Linked DNA regions of Homo sapiens: all the other regions are linked to region 1. The links are contacts of gene promoters, found by promoter capture Hi-C in blood cells and fetal thymus (Javierre and others, 2016). All regions are on one chromosome and are shown on one strand. The core of a region is centred on a gene start or on the middle of the fragment in contact, and the rest is flanking DNA. Distances in the headings are between cores, read along the strand shown. Region 1 holds the start of CYP4F11 (cytochrome P450 family 4 subfamily F member 11). Region 2 has its middle 13 kb from the start of OR7C2. Region 3 has its middle 17 kb from the start of OR7A17.

Evidence for each region. The method cuts DNA at HindIII sites, captures the fragments that hold promoters and counts their contacts. A CHiCAGO score of 5 or more calls a contact.
Region 2: a fragment that was not itself captured here is called in contact with the fragment with the promoter of CYP4F11 in region 1 in 1 of 17 cell types (M0 macrophages); the score reaches 5.6 in M0 macrophages.
Region 3: a contact is called between a fragment that was not itself captured here and the fragment with the promoter of CYP4F11 in region 1, in 1 of 17 cell types (M2 macrophages). The highest score is 6.6, in M2 macrophages.

The regions. Positions count from the first base shown.
Region 1 is chr19:15,933,240-15,937,847 of GRCh38, reverse strand. CYP4F11 (cytochrome P450 family 4 subfamily F member 11) reads left to right here and starts at 3,319. Exons shown (of 12, transcript NM_021187.4): 1 at 3,319-3,637. The coding sequence starts at 3,440. The HindIII fragment of the contact is 9,699 bases long and covers 1-4,608 here.
Region 2 is chr19:14,926,692-14,930,981 of GRCh38, reverse strand. It overlaps the pseudogene OR7A15P. Among named protein-coding and RNA genes, the nearest start is that of OR7C2, 13 kb to the left of the region's middle. The HindIII fragment of the contact is 592 bases long and covers 1,853-2,444 here.
Region 3 is chr19:14,900,334-14,905,028 of GRCh38, reverse strand. It overlaps the pseudogene OR7A3P. Among named protein-coding and RNA genes, the nearest start is that of OR7A17, 17 kb to the right of the region's middle. The HindIII fragment of the contact is 776 bases long and covers 2,896-3,671 here.

The DNA of each region.
Region 1 (4,608 bases), core at 2,070-4,569:
TCCAGGTCAAACCCCATATGCAGCTTACACAGCAACTGCAACAACAGCAGGAACAGTGAGTTGCACTTGCTGAACCTTTAGTCTGCCTTGTGCATTTTGCATGCATTGTCTTTTTAAGTATTATGACAACCATGTGAGGTGGGTGCTGCTGAAACGCCCATTTACAGACGTGAAGGAGCACGGCCCGGTGGTGAGGGTAGCACAATGTGAGGCTGGGTGGGAGGTCTGGGTGTATAGCCCGGCTCCACCAGCTGTGCAACTGTGGGTGGTCACTTAAGTATCTTCCAGGCTTAATGTTTCATTTGTAAAATGAAAAACAAGGTGACTAATATACTTAAAGGACTTAAAACAGGCTGTGTAGGTTATGTCGGCAAATGGTGGTGGCCACCATTCCTGCTCTAGGCTGCCTGCTCATCCCAGGCACACAGGTGGTCTACAGTGTGCCAAACCCCTCTAGCCACTGGGAGCGCTTTCTTCTGTGTCCCTATAACCCCGCCTGTTCATCAAACTCTGGCTTTGCTCCCTGAGCCTAACAGGGATGGAACTGCCAGTAGGTGAGGTCTGTCCTTGCAGAGGGAGTAGGGATTTTGGGGGATGCACCCTACCCCACTGAGGCTGTAGGGCCAGGAGCCTGAATCCCCTGGTTGATTGAGCTGGCAGTGGTGGTGGGGTGGGGGAGGCTTTGGGGCTCCCCAACACCCAGCCAGTGTCAGGAGCACTGTCTTCCCTGCCCTCCTGCTTAGCAGCTGTGCTAGGAGCCCCATCCTTCAAGCACCCCCTCACCCAAGTCCACCCGGCAGGGCAATTCTGGACAGGATACAAGGAGGGCCAGGAGGGGAGCCCTGGGTCTGCTGGGTGGAGCATCCGGGGTGTGGGAGGAGGAGCCAGGTGCTGATTCAAAGACCTCAAGATATTTCCCCTCTGGGACCATGACATTGCCTGAGATTCCTCCATTTATACATGTCCCTGTATTAATATGGCATTGACCCTAATGAATGGGTGCAGAACAGCATGGCAGAGGAAAAAGGTTTGGGCTTGAGGATCTCACAAACCTGGCTTCCTGTGAGCTCTGTAACTTGGGCTAGAGGCCTGCCCTCTCTGAGACTCAGTTTGCTCTTTTGTTAAATGGATGCATTCCCTTCTCTGGATGCCATCACTCAGGTCTCTCCAACAATCCCAGGGCTCTGGCTCAGAGAACCGAGGGGAGGTTGGTGTGAAGGCTTTGGGCATGGTGACGCGGGTGAGCATCTGACATGAGCAGGTGCACTTGACCTAGAGTAGGTGGAACACAGTAGGCATGCTTTACCTAGAGCCCCTGCCACATAGTAGGAGTGCTTTGTGGAGAGTGCCTTGCACACAGTAGGCATTCTTTATGTCAAGAACTTTACATAGAGTAGTTTTACTTTATGTGGAGCACTTGACACACAGAAAAAACACTTTATATAGAGCATCTGGCACACAGTAGGTGTGCATTATGTAGAGTACCGGCCACACAGAGTCAGAGTTTATGAAGAGTACCCAGCATCCAGAGTAGGCACGCTTTATGTAGAGCACTTGACACACAGAAAGAACACTTTATGTAGAGCATCTGGCATACAGTAGGTGTGCTTTATGTAGAGTACCGGACACATGGAGTCACAGTTTATGAAGAGTACCCAGCACCCAGAGTAGGCACGCTTTATGTAGAGCACTTGACACACAGTAGGTGCACTTGACATAGATCACCAGGCACGTAGTAAACATGCTCTACATAGAACATCTGACACACAGTAGGTGTGTTTTATATAGAGCAGCAGGTGCAGAGTAGGTACACTTTACATAAGTTACTCCGCACAAATTTCACTTTATATAGAGGACCGAGAACAAAGAAGCAAGATTTTCTGTAGAGCGCCCAGCACACAGTGGACACACTTTTCATAGAGCACTTGGCACACAGTACACAACATGTATACAGAGTACCTGGCACATGGTAGGTGTGCTTTATTTAGAGTCCAGTACACAGTAAAAGAACTTTGCATATTGTCTTTTGCAAAGAGCAGAGACTGACACACAGCAGCTAAAGTGCTAGCTGCCAGCCCCTTCCCTTCACTCCCTCCTCAGAATCTTTCATCTGTCCCCATCTAAGGCCCATTTTCCTGTGATCCCTCCTCTGTCCCCCTCTAAGGCCTTATCTGACATCCCATTTCCCAGATGGGAAGCCTGAGTCCAGGAGGGGCTCACTACCCACAGTTAGGGCAAGGGGAGGGCAGAATAAGGACTCCACTCAGGGTCCCCCATCTCTGCCCTCCTGTCCCTGGCCCCATCCACTCATGGCCCCTCTCAGCCTTACCTCCCATCTCCCCTCTCTGTCCTCCTATGCTGAACCTAGCCTCCAGGTATTCTCCTCCAGCGGGGCTCTTTATCTCTAAAATCTGACCGGGTAATCCCCAGCACAGTTAGATAGTTTGTTCCTACTCCTGTCAGTCATGTCTCGACCCAGGCCCTGGGTTGCCTGGAGGCAGGACTTGAACTCCTGCCAGACTGTGAAGCCAGAGGCCAGGAGCTTCTGTCTCTGAATCTCCTAAGTCTGCACTGAGAAATGGTGCATGATGAACTCCTGGACCACATGTGGAGAGGAGCTCAGAACATGATCTGGCACAATGGTTGGCCTGGCCCCACTCTCTTGCCACCTGAACTCTCAAGTTCATGACTTTATCTGCCACACTCTTGCCTTGGAAGGGCAAGGTGGCTGTAAACTTTGGGGCTCAGAGTCACCTTTGACTCTTCCTCAAGATCCCCTCCCACTCAGGTGTGAGATGTTGAGACCTGCGGATCCTGTGCCCATGCTGTGTCACCCTGAGCTGGCTCCTCTGCACCCAGCTGGCCCTACGCCAGGTTTTGGTTGGTTGCCCAGGCTTGGAAGACACACCCAGTCCATGGGGATTGGCTCGACCAGCCCAGCCCAGCCTCGCCTCCCACAGCCTTCCGGAAATCAGGGGCCAGAGGCAAAGACCTCCTAGCAGAGGGGGAGAGGAGGGTATGTGGGACAAGCTGCTTCTGATAGGAGCCAGGCTGGCAGTGGCAGGGCTGGAGGGTCCTGGCCTGGGATGGGGAGGGGACTGCCCAAGGTTGGGGTGGGTCAAGGCTGCTGGCCTGGGAGACTGGTGATTTCCTGGTAACTGGACCCCTGGCAACCTCCCAGTGATTCAGGCTGGGCCTTTTTGGATTCTAATCAGCCTCTCTCTCTCTTTCCCTTTCTGTGTAACTGGAGGCCACTTGGCTGCTGGTTTTCATTGGGCATTTCTGGACTTTAGATCTCAGCTCTTGTTTACCCATCTCAGAGCCTTCCCTGATCTGCCTCCAGCACTGCCCATCCTTGCCCCTTTCCACTGTCCTTGGAGCTTCCTGGGCCCTTCCCTGGGCCTCAGGATCCCACCCTCCATCCCGTCTGCCCTGCAGGATGCCGCAGCTGAGCCTGTCCTGGCTGGGCCTCGGGCCCGTGGCAGCATCCCCGTGGCTGCTTCTGCTGCTGGTTGGAGGCTCCTGGCTCCTGGCCCGCGTCCTGGCCTGGACCTACACCTTCTATGACAACTGCCGCCGCCTCCAGTGTTTTCCTCAACCCCCGAAACAGAACTGGTTTTGGGGACACCAGGGCCTGGTGAGTTTGTCAGCAGGACGGGTCTGGGGTCTCAGGATGCATGGAGTTCCTGAGGGGCAGGAATGGGGCTCAGGGAGCTGGGTTTTGAGGGTGGCTGGGGTGTGGGAACACAGAGAAGAGAGGGAGGCAGCTCACTCATTCCTCTGCCCACTCACTCATTCCTCTCCCCGCTCACTCATTCCTCTGCCCACTCACTCATTCCTCTGCCCACTCACTCATTCCTCTCCCCGCTCACTCATTCCTCTCCCCGCTCACTCATTCCTCTCCCCGCTCACTCATTCCTCTCCCCGCTCACTCATTCCTCTGCCCACTCACTCATTCCTCTTCTCGCTCACTCATTCCTCTGCTCACTCACTCATTCCTCTCCTCACTCACTCATTCTTCTCCTCACTCACTCATTCTTCTCCTCACTCACTCATTCCTCTGCTCACTCACTCATTCCTCTCCTCACTCACTCATTCTTCTCCTCACTCACTCATTCCTCTCCTCACTCACTCATTCTTCTCCTCACTCACTCATTCTTCTCCTCACTCACTCATTCCTCTCCTCACTCACTCATTCTTCTCCTCACTCACTCATTCCTCTCCTCACTCACTCATTCTTCTCCTCACTCACTCATTCTTCTCCTCACTCACTCATTCCTCTCCTCACTCACTCATTCTTCTCCTCACTCACTCATTCCTCTCCTCACTCACTCATTCTTCTCCTCACTCACTCATTCCTCTCCTCACTCACTCATTCTTCTCCTCACTCACTCATTCCTCTCCTCACTCACTCATTCTTCTCCTCACTCACTCATTCCTCTCCTCACTCACTCATTCCTCTCCTCACTCACTCATTCCTCTCCTCACTCACTCATTCTTCTCCTCACTCACTCATTCTTCTCCTCACTCACTCATTCCTCTCCTCACTCACTCATTCCTCTCCTCACTCACTCATTCCTCTCCTCGCTCACTCATTCCTCTCCCCGC
Region 2 (4,290 bases), core at 899-3,398, 1.0 Mb after region 1:
AAACAAGTTTTATTGGGGGTCTGAAGAAACTCCCCAGGCCTCCACAAACAAGTTTGTTGGGGGTCTGAAGGAACTCCCTAAACCTCCATGATTTAGCAGGAGACAAGATAAGGGTAATCACCCCAGCACCTGGACCCATTTAGATTAAGTGAATTTACTGAGGCTCCAGAGGAAGGTCTTCAGGACTCAGATCTTAGTTATAGATTAAAAGAAGTTAATCACTTATGTATTTAGATGAATGCACACTTACACATAGACATATAGCTTAGAAGGTATATAAACTCTGGAAGACTTTGTAATTTTTGAGTTGATCCAGTGGTAATTTCCAGGCCTTCTCCCTGTAACCAGTTACAGAAATAAAAACTCTTTTCCTCCCTAGTTCATCTGCATCTCATTAATGGGCCATGAGAATAAGCAGCCTGACCCTTGCTTTGGTCTGGGAACAACCTGGGCTCAAGTGATCCTCCTGCCTCAACCTCCCAAAATGCTGACATTTTAGGCATGAGCCACTATGCATGGCTAGGACTGATTTTTAAAGCCCAAATAAAATACCATTAAAACAGTTCCAGAAAATAAGAATAGTGAGACACAGCATCCCCTCTGAGTGACAATTTTCTGCCTGAAGGAATAATCAACAAGATGAGATCTTTCTCACCAGATGGGAAGACCTACTATAGGGTTTACAATGCTCATGTGTTCAAGTGATGAAACATTCATCTGGTCAGTGCCTTATTCCTGGGCGAACCTCTCACTTTTCTTCTTTATAGTAAGTCATTCCTTATTTGCAGGGGATTGGTTTCAGGACACCCTGCATATAACAAAATCCACTGATGCTGAAGTCCCTTATATAAAATGGCATAGTATTTGCATATTAGCTATGCACATTCTCCTGTATACTTTAAATCATTTCTAGAGTACTTATAATACTGAACACAGTGTAAATGCTCTGTAAATAGTTGTTATACTTTATTTAAAAATTTGTATTATTTTTATTGTTGTATTGTGATTTTTAATTTTTTTAAAAAACAATTATATATTTATTTATATATTTTAAATAAAAAGAAAGAAATGGAGATATATGAACTTTCTGACAAAGAATTCAAAAATAATTGTTTTAAGGAAGTGCAGCAAACTTTAAGAAAATACAGAGAAACAATTCACCAAAATCAGAAAGACAATAAATGAACAAAATTTGAAATTTAACAGAGAGATTGAAATTATAAAAAAACTCTAGAAATTCTCAAGATGAAAAATACAATGAATGAAATGAAAAATGCAATCTAGAGTGTCAACAGCAGGATTGATAAAGCAGAAGAAATAAAGCAGAAGAAATAATCTATGAACTTGAAGACAGATTATTAGAAAACATACACTCAGAGGAGAAAAACAGAATAAAAAGGAGTGAAGAAAACTTATGGGATTTTATGGGGCAGCATAAGGAGGGTAAATATTTGAATTAACAGGAATCAAGAAAGAGAAGGAATGAACAAAGAGACAGAAAGCTTATCAAAAAAATAACTGAAAACTTTCCAACTTTCAGGAAAGATATAAATATCCAGATATCAACAGAATAATCTTTGATCATGAGGACTGAAAAGAATTTAGATTATAAAAGATGTAAAGGAATTGATGATCAAGTAAATACACATATTGTTCAATCATCTGTATTTTGTGTTATGATTACATTTGTTAAAGGGGGAAATATTTTTTGGACAATGTAAGTAGTCATATTTGTAGGTAACACTAGAATTTTCAAATAGAAACAGCAAGATGATACAATAAAATAATATAGACCATGACACCAAATCTTTCACTCAGATCAACAAACCTCATTACACATGAATAACAAGCTTCCACACTTCAATGAGTAGATGTACATCATTGAAAACAAACCTTCCATAGAAATTTAGTACATAATTGAAAATGTTACTCTATCATATTTAACGTCATCTCTAACTCTAAGTCCATGTAAAGCCAATTGATTTTTGCCAGTTTGTCTTTCTGTGTAGACTATGCTTGGAGCATTTATTTGATGAGCAACTTTTGACTAAGTACTCAGTGCCAGTAAATATAGTAGAATTCATGAATACTGAGTTCAAGAAGAGAACAGGATCCTAATGGGAGTGAAAAATCCCATAACCAGCTATAAAATACCCTAGTATGTTTAAGTCTACATTATCAGGAAGATCAATTAAGGTAGTGATACAGAAATGAATGACAAACACAAAAAGTGAAAAACCATAGCCTCAGAAATTCTTCTCCAATAAAATTACATAAATGGCCTCAGTGCCAAGCGTAGTTTATTCCATAGGAATAGTACAACTCATCACCCTATGAGGCAAATGGGAATCTCCAAATTGTTTCTGACCCAAGGTTGGGAATAACTTTGAGAAAGGAGGAAAACAAGGGGAAAATCTGTTGAATATTAGAGAGAGAGGAAAGCTTAATAATAGGAGTTGCTTAAATTTGATGAAGCAGTTGAGATAAAAGAAATGGAAACTTCAGGAAATAAATAGAGCAATTTCCAGCCCGGCGCAGTGGCTCACGCCTGTAATCCCAGCACTTTGGGAGGCAGAGGCGGTTGGATCACGAGGTCAGGAGATCAAGACCATCCTGGCTAACATAGTGAAACCCCGTCTCTACTGAAAATACAAGAAATTAGCCGGGTGCGGTGGTGGGTGCCTGTAGTCCCAGCTACTCGGGAGGCTGAGGCAGCAGAATAGCATGAACCCAGGAGGTGGAGCTTGCAGTGAGCGGAGATGGCGCCACTGCACTCTGGCCTGGGCAGCAGAGCAAAACTCTGTCTCAAAAAAAAAAAAAAAAAAAAAAAAGAGCAGTTTCCACTTCCATGATCTGATTAAACAACAGCAATATCTGGCTCTGAGGCTTTGAGCCTTGCAATCATGGATATAGCTTCAGCCCTAGGACAACTGGCCCTTTTCTAGTTTCCCTCCCAAAGAATTCTTCAGAGCCCTCTTTATGTCCTTATTCCTCAGGCTGTAGATGAAGGGGTTCAGCATGGGGGTGACCACAGTGTACCTCACTGAGGCTATTGCACCTGAGTGTGAGTTGTGGGATGCAGCCGAGCTAAGGTACACTCCTAGGCTTGTACAGTAAAACAAGGAGACAACTGAGAGGTGAGACGGACAGGTGGAAAATGCCTTATACTTCCCTTGAGCTGATGAGATTGCACATATGGAGGAAACTATCTTAGAGTAAGAGTAAAGGATCCCAGCGAGACATCCCCCCACCCAGCAGCACAGCTGCCAGATACATCACCATGTCATTAAGAAAGGTGTCAGAACAGGCAAGGTGGATGACCTGATTAAGTTCACAGAAAAAGTGGGGGATTTCCAACTCTCTGCATAAGGACAACTGCAGCACCATTAAGCTATGTAATAAGGAATGCAAGACACTTGTGATCCAGGATACCAGAACCAGCAATCCACAGAGTTGAGGGTTCATGATGACCGTGTAGTACAGGGGGTGACAGATGGCCACAAACCGGTCATAGGCCATCACAGTCAGGAGGAAGCTGTCCAATCCTACAAAATGTATGAAAAAGTACATCTGGGTGATGCAGCCTGCAGAGGTGATGACTTTGCTCTGTGCCTGGATATTCACCAGCATCTTTGGGACCCTGGTGGAGGCAAAACAGATGTCTACAAAGGACAGGTTGGAGAGAAAGAAGTACATGGAGGTGTGGAGGTGGGAGCATAAAATGATAACCAGGATGATAAGCAAGTTTCCAAATACAATGATGAGGTACATGGATAAGAACACTCCAAAGAGAAATCGTTATGCTCTGGTTTCTCTTCAAATTGTATAAATCTTTTGCCTTTTACCAAAGAGAAATCGTTGCAGTCTGGGTTCTTCTGAAAATCCCAGAAGTCGAAATTCTGAAATTCGTGTATCATTCTCTGGTTCCATGTGGTAGAGGTGACTATAAAAAAAAAAAAAAGAGAGAGAGAGAAAATACATGACATAAGCATGCTTTTTTCACCCATCAGAAAAGCTATTATTTATATCCTACAGTCAGCAAGTTAATTTCTATATTTTGTGTGTGAATCTGGTCTACTTTATGAGATCTCCCATCCCATCTCTGCTTAGGAATTCCTTTCCCATGATGCTCAACTTTTCCCCAAATGGTCATTTATTTAAAAACTTTGCCGGGTGCGGTGGCTCACACCTGTAATCCCAGCACTTTGGGAGGCAGAGGTGGGCGGGTCACCTGAGGTCGGGAGTTCAAGACCAGCCTGACCAACATGGAGAAAACCCATCTCTACTAAA
Region 3 (4,695 bases), core at 2,034-4,533, 1.0 Mb after region 1:
TAAAATGGAGCCCCACATTTACATGTGCATGGGAAGCTTTTGGGCTGGAATTTGCTGCCCTGTTTACGTCCTTAGGGGGCCACATTAATAGAGGGCTCAGAACCACATGGGGAGACGAGGCTGTCAGTGTCTTGAAGTTTCAACAGCAGCAGGGAGACCACCTGGTTCCTCAATACTCCTGACACCATCTCTGATCACTCTCCCTCCTTCTCATTGCCCTCAACACGCTGGCTTCTATTTGAGCCTTGATTTTCCGAAACAAGCACCTTCCTCAGGCCTTTGCATTAGTCATTCCCTCTGTCAGGCACAGACTTCGCCAAATATCCTCTGGGCTCCCAACCGCCTCTTCCTTGAGGTCTCTGTTCAAATGTCACCTTGTCTGCTGGTCTTGCCTGTACACTCATAAAAAATAGCAACCCCTCTCCATTCTCTTTAATGTGCTTTCATTTTCTTCTAAGCACCATCTAACGCAACAGATGATGATGTCTTTATCAGCTCATTGTCTTTCTCCATCATTGGATAGTAAGGTTATCAGTTTCTCTGCACCCTACACTCATTACCTAGACAGTTCCTGGAACATGGTCAGCATACAATCAATATTACACAAGTGCGTAGAAGAATTTCTCATTAAAGAATATACAACCTCTTAGGGAAAGGTTGAGAATAGCACAAGAATTTTCAATCAGAGACAGCTCTGAGGAGCACAGAAACTGGGAAAAGTTCCATACACAAAATATAGAAATTAATGTCTTGGCTGCAAAATATAACTGGTTGTCTTTCAACAATGTGAGTGATGCCCTTTTGAGTAAAAATTGGTCATGTTCTCTTTCTCTGACTGGTAGTCACCTCAACCACATGGAACCAGAGAATGGTACGAGGATTTTAGGATTTCTTCTTCTGGGACTTTCAGAGGAACCAGAATTGCAGCCCGTTATGTTTGGACTCTTCCTCTCCATGTATCTGACAACTGTGTTTGGAAACCTGCTCATCATCCTGGCCATCTGCTCTGGTTCCCACCTCCACACCCCCATGTACTTCTTCCTCTCTAACCTGTCCTTTGTAGACATCTGTGTTACCTCCACCACAGTCCCAAAGACACTGTCAAACATCCGGACACAGAGTAAAGTCATCACCTATGCAGGTTGCATCACCCAGATGTACTTTTTTGTACTCTTTATAGTGTTGGACAGCTTACTCTTGACCGTGATGGCCTATGACCAGTTTGTGGCCATCTGTCACCCCCTGCACTACACGGTCATCGTGAACCCTCGGCTCTGTGGACTGCTGGTTCTGGCGTCCTGGATCATGAGTGCCCTGAATTCCTTGATAGAAAGCTTAATGGTGTTGCCACTGCTCTTTTGTACAGACTTGAAAATCCCCCACTTTTTCTGTGAACTTAATCAGATAATCCGCAGTGCCTGTTCTGACACCTTTCTTAATGACATGGTGATGTATTTGTCAGCTGTGCTTCTAGGTAGGGGATGTTTCACTGGGATCCTGTACTCTTACTTTAAGACAGTTTCCTCCATACGTGCAATCTCATCAGCTCAGGGGAAGTACAAGGCATTTTCCACCTGTGCATCGCACCTCTCAGTTGTCTCCTTATTTTATTGTATGAGCCTTGGGGTGTACCTTAGTGCTGCTGCAACCCACAACTCACTCTCAAGTGCAACAGCCTCTGATGTACACTGTGGTCACCCCCATGCTGAACCCCTTCATCTACAGTCTGAGGAATAAAGACATAAAGGGGGCTCTAAAACAATTCTTCAGAAGGAAGAAATAAAATGAGCATCTTTCAAGAAGTACATGTGATTTCAAAGCTCTAACCGAACTCAAACATTGTGATTCACGAATCAGATCATGGAAGGAGGGAAAGAGAATGTTCTGCTTCTATTCAGTTTCTAGAGTTTTAATTTCCTTGTTCTCAAGTGCTGTGTCAGACTTATGCTATTTCTTTAGAAAGCTTTCTGCTCTGATATCCAACTTACTTTTTGTTTGTCATTTTCCTAATTTCCCATAGTTATTTCCAAACTAGGGTAAAACACTTTTGGAGATTCCTATTTGTCTAATACACTAGAGAGTTGTATCAGTCCTAAAAAATCAATTGCACTTGGCAAATGTAAGGTCATTGGTATAATCATATTATAGATGAATATCTGAGATCACAGTTTTTTACTTCTGAGTCCTTCATTTCTTACTACCTTTACTGTTCTTCCTGATTATGTAAACTTGACCATGCTGGTGTGTTTATAATCATCATGGCATTTTATTCTCCTCATTAGGATCCTGTCTGCTATCCAGCTCAGTGTCTACACTGCCTACTATATTCCCTGGTAAAGAGGAGGAAGGCGAATATTACTTATAACATACATGTTCCTAGTGTAGTCTACACAGAAAGACACATTTGCATGAATCAATTGACTTCATATGGCCTCAGATTCAGAGACGACCTTAAATATGATGGACTAAAATTTTCAGTCATGCAGTGATTATCGTGGAAGATTTGTTTTTGATGGTGTGTGATATGGTTTGTCTGTGTCTCCACCCAAATCTCACCTTGATTGTAGCTCCCATAATTTCCTTGTGTCATGGGAGGGACCCGGTGGGAGGTAATTGAATCATTGGGGCAGGTCTTTCCCATGCTGTTCACATGGCAGTGAATAAGTCTCATGAGATCTGATGGTTTTATAAAGGGGAGTTCCCCTGCATATGCTCTCTTGCCCGCCGCCATGCAAGACATGCCTTTGGCCTTCTGCTGTGATTGTGAGGCCTCCCCAGCCACGTGGAACTGTGAGTCCATTAAACTTCTTTTTCTTTATAAATTACCCAGTCTTGGGTATGTCTTTATCAGCAGTGTGAAAACGGACTAATACAACTCATTAAAGGGTGGAAGCTTGTTGTCCATGGGTAATGAGGTTTGTTCATTTAGGTAAAGGATTTGGTGTCATGATCTACATTATTTGATTGCATCATCTTTCTGTTTCTGATTAAAAGTTTCCAGTGCTACAAATATGACTTCTTGCATTGTTCTAAAACTATCACTCCCTTTAATAAATTATGTCACAAGCATTAAACTGGAGGTAAGTGAAGGATATGTGTATTTACTGTATCATCACTTGCTTTATCTCTTTTATACTCCAAACTCTCTAATGATGACTCACATAAGAGCTTGAATTTCTTCCCAGTATTGCATGTGAGATTAGAGACTTGAGATTCCAGGTTGCAATTTGTTTCAGCAAAAATATACATGTCCTGCCAAACTCTTCTGGTTACCTAGAGGAAATCTAAAAGTAGTCATCCTATGATACAGTTATGTGAAGTAAATATAAATATCCATATAATTATGAACACTGCTTTCTGATATCAGAAAAAGCACCAAAAAAAAAGAGCCAACAGAATATTCTGTATACAGTGAATCCAATAAAAAACTAAAAAACAAAAGGATCTGACACCTAAAAAAAGATAATTCTGAATATCTTTAGTTATGTTGCTTTGATTATTGTATCAGTAATCTAATGTTGTGTAACAAAACATCCCAATAATAAATGATTTAAAGTCATGCTTTTAAAAAATCACATCAGAGTCTACATTGTGGAAGTTTTCTCATTGGGGATTAGGACATATATATCCTGGACAAGACAAAAATATTCAGCCATAGGACTATCCAAGCTTAATTAGCTCTTGAATGTTGGGCAGTAAGGACAATCTTTTTTTAACTTTTATTTTAGGTTCAGGGGTACATGTGCAGGTTTGCTATATAAGCCAACTGTTTGTTGTGAGGGTTTGGTGTACAGAGTATTTTGTCACCCGCTTAATAAGCATACCTGATACATAGTTTTTTTTATCCTAACCCTCCTACCACCCTCAACACTCAAGGAGGCCCCAGTATCTGTTGTTCCCCTCTTTGTGTCCATGTGTTCTCATTATTTAGCTCCCACTTGTAAATGAGAATATGTGGTATTTGGTTTTCTGTTCCTACGTTAGTTTGCTAAGAATTATGGCCTCCAGCTCCAACCACGTTGTTGCAAAGGACACAGTCTCATTCTTTTTGATGACTCTGTAGTATTCTATGTTGTATAGTACCACATCTTCTTTATTCGGTCTACTATTGATGGACATTCAGGTTGATTCCATGTCTTTGCTATTGTGAATAGTGCTGTGATGAACATATGTATGCATATGTCTTTATAGTAGAATGATTTACATTCCTTTGGGTATATATCCAATAATAGAATTTCTGAGTGAAGTGGTAATCCTGTTTTAAGGTCTTTGAGAACTGTGAAACTGCTTTCCACAATGGCTGAACTAATCTACATTCCCAAAAGCAGTGTGGAAGTATTTCCTTTTCTCCAGACTCTCACCAGCATTTGTTATTATTGGACTTTTAAATAATAGAGCAAGGACAATTTGAAAGAGGAAGAGCAACAGAAGTGGTGTCATCTCACAATGCCTCTTACAGCTTCTTCTCACAGATTGAACATCTCATGACCACTCACATCCTATCAGACAAAGAATGTCTCAATCATCGTAGGTGTTACACTTCTCCCAGTTGAGGCATCATCAAAATCCAGAGCCAAAGGTGGAGAAGACTGATCCTCCTAAAGGCAACATAGAAAGGCAACACAAAAATACAGAAAGAGGTGTCTAATTATCTAAGAGTTAATAAATAAGTGGAAAATAATTATCTACTGGGAG